Regions from separate parts of the Homo sapiens genome. Here regions 1 and 3 are each linked to region 2. The links are contacts of gene promoters, found by promoter capture Hi-C in human tissues and cell types (Jung and others, 2019). All regions are on one chromosome and are shown on one strand. Each heading gives the region's core, a stretch centred on a gene start or on the middle of the fragment in contact. The rest is flanking DNA. Distances are from core to core; before and after follow the strand shown. Region 1 overlaps NSD2 (nuclear receptor binding SET domain protein 2). Region 2 holds the start of NAT8L (N-acetyltransferase 8 like). Region 3 overlaps POLN (DNA polymerase nu).

What was found. The method cuts DNA at HindIII sites, captures the fragments that hold promoters and counts their contacts. A contact is called where the count stands out against the background at its distance.
Region 1: a contact is called between a fragment that was not itself captured here and the fragment with the promoter of NAT8L in region 2, in 3 of the 25 tissues and cell types used here (dorsolateral prefrontal cortex, lymphoblastoid cells and mesendoderm cells).
Region 3: a contact is called between a fragment that was not itself captured here and the fragment with the promoter of NAT8L in region 2, in 2 of the 25 tissues and cell types used here (adrenal gland and mesendoderm cells).

What each region holds. Positions count from the first base shown.
Region 1 is chr4:1,946,686-1,949,385 of GRCh38, forward strand. All of the region lies in intron 9 of NSD2 (nuclear receptor binding SET domain protein 2), which reads left to right. Among named protein-coding and RNA genes, the nearest start is that of MIR943, 38 kb to the right of the region's middle. The HindIII fragment of the contact is 5,987 bases long and covers 1-2,700 here.
Region 2 is chr4:2,057,956-2,060,655 of GRCh38, forward strand. It overlaps NAT8L (N-acetyltransferase 8 like), which reads left to right and starts at 1,372. Exons shown (of 3, transcript NM_178557.4): 1 at 1,372-1,932. The coding sequence starts at 1,557. The HindIII fragment of the contact is 12,290 bases long and covers 1-2,700 here.
Region 3 is chr4:2,154,113-2,156,812 of GRCh38, forward strand. POLN (DNA polymerase nu) reads right to left here. Exons shown (of 26, transcript NM_181808.4): 16 at 2,676-2,700. Among named protein-coding and RNA genes, the nearest start is that of HAUS3, 87 kb to the right of the region's middle. The HindIII fragment of the contact is 6,445 bases long and covers 1-2,700 here.

The sequences.
Region 1 (2,700 bases), core at 32-2,531, 110 kb before region 2:
TTACCACTAATTTACCTGGCAGTGATGTCAAATTGACTGTAATTAGCAGGTAGAAAATTATTTGTATTATATTCATCTGATTCCTATACTGGATGAGCAAGGAGCATGCTTCCTTTGGGACATTCTTACAGCAGGGTGTCTCTCCAACAGCCCGACAGGCCTCATCTTTTTGGTTGGATACCTTTGAACTCCATGGTTACGTGTTAGGTCCACATTTGTGTTTTTTTCTAGCCTACCTATAGTTGTTGGCCTTTTTGCATATAACTCTCGGGTAATATTTTGAAGCATGCTGACCATCCAGGCATATAGTATTTTCAAGAAATGACTGAGGTAGGGGTGGGGGTCCTGGTCCGGCTGATGGGGGTTTGCTCAGCACTGTGCCAGTGGAAGCAGGTGTATTGTGGGCAGTTTTGTCATTGTCCTCAAGTCCTTCGCAGACAGTGCACAGCCTGCTGTCTGCAGTCGGCCAGACCAGGCTCCTCCCCAGCACACTCCCTGTGGGATGGCCGCTGCTCAGGACACAGTGGGACAAAGTTGGGTTGATAGGATATTTTAGATTCATTTTACCTTTGACAAGGGCAGGCCTTGAATTGGGAGCAGCAGCCACCTGGCCTCACTCTGGCCACAGGTGACACTTGGTCCTTGCTGCCACCTGCTTGGGGCTATGTGGCTACGGCTACACAAAAGCCTGTGCAGGTTAGAAGACGACTGTGGTGTGCAGTGGTGCTCTGGGAGTGGAGACTTCCTCTGTTCTCAGAGACTCACCCCCAGCCCTGACCCTAGAATTTAGGGATAGCCAGGAAGTTTCTAGTTTGTGTAACCTAGAAGGGTCACTTTAATAAAAATTGTTATGAACTATAGTATTTTAGATGATGAGTGACTTATTTTAATTCCACTTTAACATTTTACTGTGCTGTTAACTTGGAAGACCTGTTTGAAATTAGTCTTGATTTCACACTCATTTAATCTGCTGAGCACAGGGCTGTTGTCATTTGTAAACGCAAACACTGTGGAGGTACTTCTCGCCATCAGCTTCCTTCTTTACAAAACCATCATTTCAACATGAAAATTATGTCAGTTTATAGAAATATTTATTGTTCAAGGTCTGTAATTGTATTTCAAAAACGATGTCGTATTCAAGTTGTGAAGGGATTTGTTTTGTCAAAAAATTAAAAACTCAATGTGTATGACGCCACTCTGAAGAGTAGGTGAGCGCTTTGCAGTCACAGAAGGTGGCATCTGACTGCGGCTCATACAGGTCACCCTGAAGGGCCACGTGCTTTTAGCAGTTGGCTGGAATGTGTTCACTAGGTTCCGTTATGTTTGGTAATATCATCTTGAAAAGTCCCTGTAATAGATCAAGGAGACTGCATTCCCTGCCCTGAAGGAATGTATTTCTAAGGCAAATAGGCAACTTGGTACTATCTTATTCTGAGTAGAGAGTGGAGAAAGTATTTTCAGACTGAAGAAAACTTTGAAAAGTCAGGAGCTAAGCTGCTCGGAGCTCAGTGCCGCAGCATGGCTGTGGTGGACGCGGGAAACAACGGGAAAGTTCTTGACAGAGTCTGTGTCCGCTCAGTCCCTGCACTTTTCCTTTCCAAATGCATCTCGTTGGATATGGAATAGATCGTAGATGTTGTAGACTGAGATTTGGGACTATGTTGGGACCGTACAGGTGAATGTGCCACCTCCACAAATGGCTTCTCCGAGTGAGTCACGTCACCTGGTGCGTGGAGGTGGAGCCTGCGGCTGGAGTAAGGCTTGCTGTGGGACGCCCTCGTACTTTGCTCTCCTTGCGGGTGGTTGCCGAGCCGAGAGCATTGGATCCTCCCCGACTGTGGCTAGTTGTCTGTCCGGTGGCTGGGAGGGGGTGTGGTGGGAAAAAGTCGGAATCTCTGCAATCTGTGTCATGGACTGTACTATTGTAAGGTCTATATTCTGTATGTGGGTCCCAGACCCTGATCAGGAAATGAGCCTCATGTGTGTCGTTAACATTTATATATTTCCATTCAAAATATGTATTCAGTGTTTATTTCCTCAAAACAGACTTTGTTAATGTAGGAAATCTCTCCAAGTGGAAACGTGCTAACTTTTTCTGTAAATCTGAAATAAAAGGTGCTGTTCCTTCCTCTGACCCAGGACTGCTTTGTGTTTTCTGTCTTTCTCTCCATGCATTTTTTTTCTCATTTTTAAAGCTTTTTAAGTTTGTTCCACCACGTTAAGGGAAGAGCATGGGTTGGTGGATAGCGCTGGGGCTCTCTCCCCTGAGCCATGCAGAAGGCCCCTTTCTCTGGGCCTTGGTTCCCCCATCAGATGGGTCAGCTTGGGCGACTGTGTGGGTGACTCTCTGAGTGGGGCCCCAGACAGTGTGGCCACTGCTTCCCCATGCCCTGTGCTCCCCTGGCTCCCCCTCCAGTCTCATCTCAGAAGTGCTCAGGTCTCCACTGCTGAGTCCATATCTGATGCGCTTGTTAAATTGGAGGTTTGAACTCAGAGCACGTCAAGTGGCCCTTTGTGGGTGTTAAAGAACAGGATGTGCGCTGTGGCTCTTGCAGGGCCCTCCTGGCAGCCTCACAGTGACAGAGCCTTAAAGTGTGCACTGCTCTGATTAGTGTTCATGACGCTAGTCCATCTTCCTGGAAAAGGTGAGGAAACCAAGATTAAGAGGCTGCGTTTTCTTTAGACTTTGTGCTGTCAGGA
Region 2 (2,700 bases), core at 122-2,621:
AATTCTTGGTGAATTTAGGAGCTGCGTCTTCATTTTTCCTTTAAAAACGCACTTGCAACTGCTGCGAATGAGAGCGCGTGCATTCAGACCAACCTGAGTCTGTCCTTCCACGCTGCAGTCCTCAAACTTGGCCCCAACAAACTATTTCTATTCGTTTTGCCTGTTTTCTCCTTTAGGTTGAAAAGCTGACAGCGGGCCCCAGACACTGAGGGGGCGCCTTCCCAGCTTGGCTTCCCCTCCCCCCCACGCCCCCACCCCGTCCCCTGCCCCTCTCCAGGGCCCGTTCTCTGGCGGACGGGGCTGTGGACCAGTTCAGCCGCCCCTCCCCACCCCACCAGGGCGCTGCGGCCTCACTCCCACGTCCACGGGCAGGCCCAGCCCCTCCTGGCCTTCAGGTGACCTCAGCTGCCCGGCTGGCCCCAACTCCACCGCACAACGCAGACTGCGGGTCCCCAGGCCTGGACCCCTGGCCCCGTCCCGCCCGCGCATGTCGGGGAAGCTCTGCTCCGGCAGCCCTCGGGGTGGTGCTGGGAGGTCGCGCAGAACTGAAGGGGGCTAGGTTCGAGAAGCGCCGAGGATGGGGTCTGCGACCGCCTCCCCGCACCTGAGCTTCTCCGCCCCAGCCTGCGGCGTCTGCAGGTCCTACAAGGCGCAGAGCCCCCGCTGCACCTGCACCGAGGCCACGGGGCGCATGCGCGGCCGCGGGGGGCGGGGGCCGGGCCGGGAGGGGTCCTGCGGGCCCCGCATCCCCGTGCCCACTGCGGGGCTCGGACAGGGGGGCGCCGCGCCAGGCCGCAGACCCCGCCCTTCCGCGTCCCCACTCCGGCTGCCCGTGCGGCTCCGGACGAGGCTTCCCGGGGGCTCCGGGCCGGGGCAGCCGCGGCGCCCTCTCCCCAGGTCCACCGCGGGCGCTGCTTTCAAACAAAGGCAGGAGACGGAGCGGGAGACGCTGCCGTGACTGCTCCGGGCGGCCGCGGAGGAGGAGGAGGAGGACGTGGCGCCGCGATCGCCAGCGGTCGGGCCCGGGGTCGGGGCGCTCCCAGGCGCGCGGCGTGGGAGCGGGGGGCGGGGCGGGCGGCGCCCATCACGCGCTCCGCGGCCGGGTCCCGAGCCCCGCCGGACGCCCCCGGGCCAGGAGCCCCCGCCCGCGCCGCCGCCCCCGCCCGTGCCGGGCCCCTCGCGCTGCCCGGCCGCCCCGTCGCGCCCAGCGAGCCACCCGGCGAGGCGGGGGCGGCGTCTCCCCCACCCCCGCGATCACATGGTGACCCCCGGCAGCCAATGCAGTGGACGCTAGGACCCTGCGGGCCGCGGGCGCCGCGACTGCACCGGCGCCGCCGCATTATAAATACTTCTCCAAAATGCGGCGCAGCTCCCTGCGCGCGCCCCGGCCGCCCGCCGCCTCCGCCCCGCGCCCCTGAGCTGCCGCCGCCGCCGCCGCCGCTGCCGCCGCCGCCGCCGCCGCCGCGGGTCCGAGGGCGCCGCGCCCTTGCCCTGGGCCCGGCCGTGCCCGCCGCCGCCCGGCCGCGTCCCCGCTGCCGCGCCGCCCGGCCGGGTGCATGCATTGTGGGCCTCCCGACATGGTCTGCGAGACGAAGATCGTGGCCGCCGAGGACCATGAGGCGCTGCCGGGGGCCAAGAAGGACGCGCTGCTCGCCGCCGCCGGCGCCATGTGGCCCCCGCTGCCCGCCGCGCCCGGGCCGGCCGCCGCGCCCCCCGCGCCCCCACCTGCCCCGGTGGCTCAGCCTCACGGCGGGGCGGGGGGCGCGGGGCCGCCGGGGGGGCGCGGCGTGTGCATCCGCGAGTTCCGTGCGGCCGAGCAGGAGGCGGCGCGCCGCATCTTCTACGACGGCATCATGGAGCGCATCCCTAACACGGCCTTCCGCGGCCTGCGGCAGCACCCGCGCGCGCAGCTGCTCTACGCCCTGCTGGCGGGTCAGTGCGCCGGGCCCCCGGCTGCCGCAGTCCCTCGGGCCGGCGCGGAGCTCCCCCGCCCCGGCGTCCACGCGGACCCCGCGCCCGGCTCCCGGGGACCAGCCTGGGAAGCCCCCCGCTTTCTGCCGCGCCGGGCCCCGCGCAGGGCTGGCTATGGGCGTGGGGATGGGCGCAGGGCCCCGAGCGGGCCGGAGCCGGGGAGGGTCCGGGGTCCGCACCTGCGTCCCCGCCGCGCAGCCCCCCACCCCCACCGCCTCCCCTGTCCCCTCCCGGGCATCCTGGGTGGGGGCGGGTGCCAGGGCAGGTAGCGCCCGCCGCGGCTGGGCCCCGGCGAGTGCCTAAATATAATCTGCGGGCGGGGGAGGCCGCCTCCCGCTCGGTGCTAATTTATGAGGGGAAGACAGCCGGCGCCGCGGGGGGTGCGCGCGCCTGGCACAGCCGGGGCGGTCGCAGAGGGCGGCCCCTTCAGCGTCTTTGGGTGCCCTTCCCCTCAGAGCTTCCTGCCGGGGTGAGGGGGTTCGCTCCCATTTTACAGATGAGGCGCTTGAGGCCGCGTAGGGAGGACGCGACTCCCCCAAGGTCACGGCAGCCGAAATGCGGCTGGAAGCGGTGTGGGGCCTCCCTGCCCTGTCCCTGCCCTCAGAGCTCCCGGACGCTGGCCAGGAAGGGCTCTTGCTGGGGCCCTGGGAAGAGGGGGTCCTGGAGCCCGAGGCTGGAACGTGGGACACCCCCCTTCCTCCTCCCCCCTCCCCCCTCCCCCGCGCGGGG
Region 3 (2,700 bases), core at 55-2,554, 96 kb after region 2:
GCATGAACCAGTGAGGCAGAGCTTGCAGTGAGCTGAGATCACGCCACTGCACTCCAGCCTGGGCGACAGCGAGACTCCATCTCAACAAAAAAAAAAAAAAAAAAAAAAAAAAGACATTTTAAGTATGGCAAACCAGAATATATATCTTAAAAGTTAAAAGGCAAAAGAAAATTGGAGGAAAATAATTCAACATTTCATAAAGGGTTAATTTTTATTATATAAAGAGCTTTTCCATACCAATAGGAAAAAATAAACACCCTCCAGAGAAATGGGCAAATGACATGAACAGGCAATTCAAAGAAGAATAATTGTTTCATGTAGTCAACCTCAACAAATATTTAAAGAAATGGAAATTGAAAAAATGAGTCAGGAAAGTAATCAAAACGAAAATTCCTTGTGTTGGCAAGGATTAAGGGACCAAGCATTTCACATACTATGTGGTGGGAATGTTATTTTTGGCGAGAGGCTAATTTGGCAACATAAAGCCTTAAAAATACATATATACTGTGACTCAGAAATTCTATCTCTAGGAAATTGCACTATAGAAATCAACAGAAAAAAGTACCAAAAATGTTCATGGTATTGGTTATGGTATTGCTATTGAAGTTTGTATGGTATTGCTATGATAAAGTACAGGTATGTTTATGGTATTTCTATAAAATAATTAAAACTGCAAACAATCTAAATGACCATCAATAGGGGCAGCCATTAAATGGAATACAATGCAGCTGTTAAAAAGATGACACAAACTTCCAGTTAAAGGTCATGGCTGAATGCACATGTTATGTTTACATCTCATCTTTCCAAAAGTTCAACTGAAATAACAGAAAAATAAATAGGTAAAATTAGAGCTTCACTGAGAACCTGGGAGGAGTGCTACTCACAAACCAGACCCTTCAGAAACTTCTGGAAGAGAATAAAACACAGCAAGAGATTTACTGAAAATGTAATGGAAAAAGAAACTTATAACTGCATAAAAACAAAAGCAAGGACCTCCACGAAAAGTTTCTCAGCAGAATTCCTAAATAACTCTTAGATAAGAAGTATCAACTAAGAGAAACTACAGCAGTTGTGGTTGGTTGAGAAATTAGCCCAAGGGTAACGTGGCAGCAGTGCCTGCATTCAGAGGAGATGGCACTGGTATTCACATGGATATTGGTGCTGGTATTGGTATTCACATTACTATTGCTATTACTACCACTCTTCGCTAGATAAAGACCCCAGAAGAGCTCCCTAAAGTGCAAGGCCAGAGACAGCTGGCAGCCCGAGAGCTGACTGACCAAGAGTGGGTGTCCATGCACCCAAGAGGCCACACGATTAGCGCAAACTCACCCCATCCCAGCCTCTCTTCCTCTTCCTCACACAGTCACCTGAGTGTGTCCCTCTGCCTGCATGCACTCGGTACACCATCTATGCAAATGCCTGGGTGAAGGCCTGACCCTTAATGGAGGGAACCCACGGGACAGACACATGTTACGGAGGGAAGGGAAAGATGACTAACATTTGCTCATTCTGTAAACCTCCACATACTTGTATTTCTTTACCATGAATACATATTCATATTTATATATATATGTTAGTGTGTACTTAAATAATTCACATATTTAATTCATATATTTAAATTTAAATATAGATTCAAATCAATATTAATGTAGAATGATATCAAGAGATGTTAAAATAAGAAAGCATAATATAAAATAGCATGGCTTTATTTTTGTAGAAAAAAATTGTATTTTTTTTTTGACAGAGTCTCGCTCTGTCACCCAGGCTGGAGTGCAGTGGCGTTATCTCGGCTCACTGCAAGCTCCGCCTCCTGGGTTCACACCATTTTCCTGCCTCAGCCTCCCTAGTACCTGAGACTACAGGCACCCGCCACCACGCCCAGCTAATTTTTGTGTTTTTAGTAGAGACGGGGTTTCACCATATTGGCCAGGCTGGTCTTGAACTCCTGACCTCATGATCCACCGCCTCGGCCTCCCAAAGTGCTGGGATTACAGGCATGAGCCACCGCGCCTGGCCTAAAAAATTGTATTTTATAAATATATGTGCTTAGCAAAAAGTGTGGAAAGATAGATACCACAGTTCTGCACAGTGGATAACAAGTGACTTATTACTATTTTTATTTCTTTTCTGTATCTAAGGAATTTTCTATAATGAGAAATTAATCATGAGTCTTTTTTAGTTCAAAATACAGAGCCATTTAGAAAGTTAAGTGCTTTAAGTGTGATGCAAGCTGCATCATAAGTTCAAGGGAATTTAGAGCTTTTTTTTTTTTTTTCTTCATCAGAGATACAGCTTCAACAACCACCAAAAAATGGAGCTGTTCATCATAGCATCAGATACTTCAACACATTTCTGGAAATCAGAAGCCACCTGTCTGGCACAAATCTGAAAAGGAAGATGGGGTACGGGTGTCCTTTTTGCCTGCACACTGGAGTGCATGGGTTTCTGGGTGTGAAGCCCCCCTCTTGCTAACTCAGCACTTCATGAGAAGAGAACCCATCTGTCTTGTTCTCCTGCTATGTTCTCAGAATAAACAGAATAAAACACAACATATCAGTATGAAGTCCCCTCTTGGAAACAGAAAGTGCACAGGCAAACACATATGGAGAAAAAACTTCAATAGCAAGGCAGGAAAATGGCGTTTAACAAAGACAGTTGTTTAAACAACTTACAGGATGCTTGGCTGAAAGTCTTCCA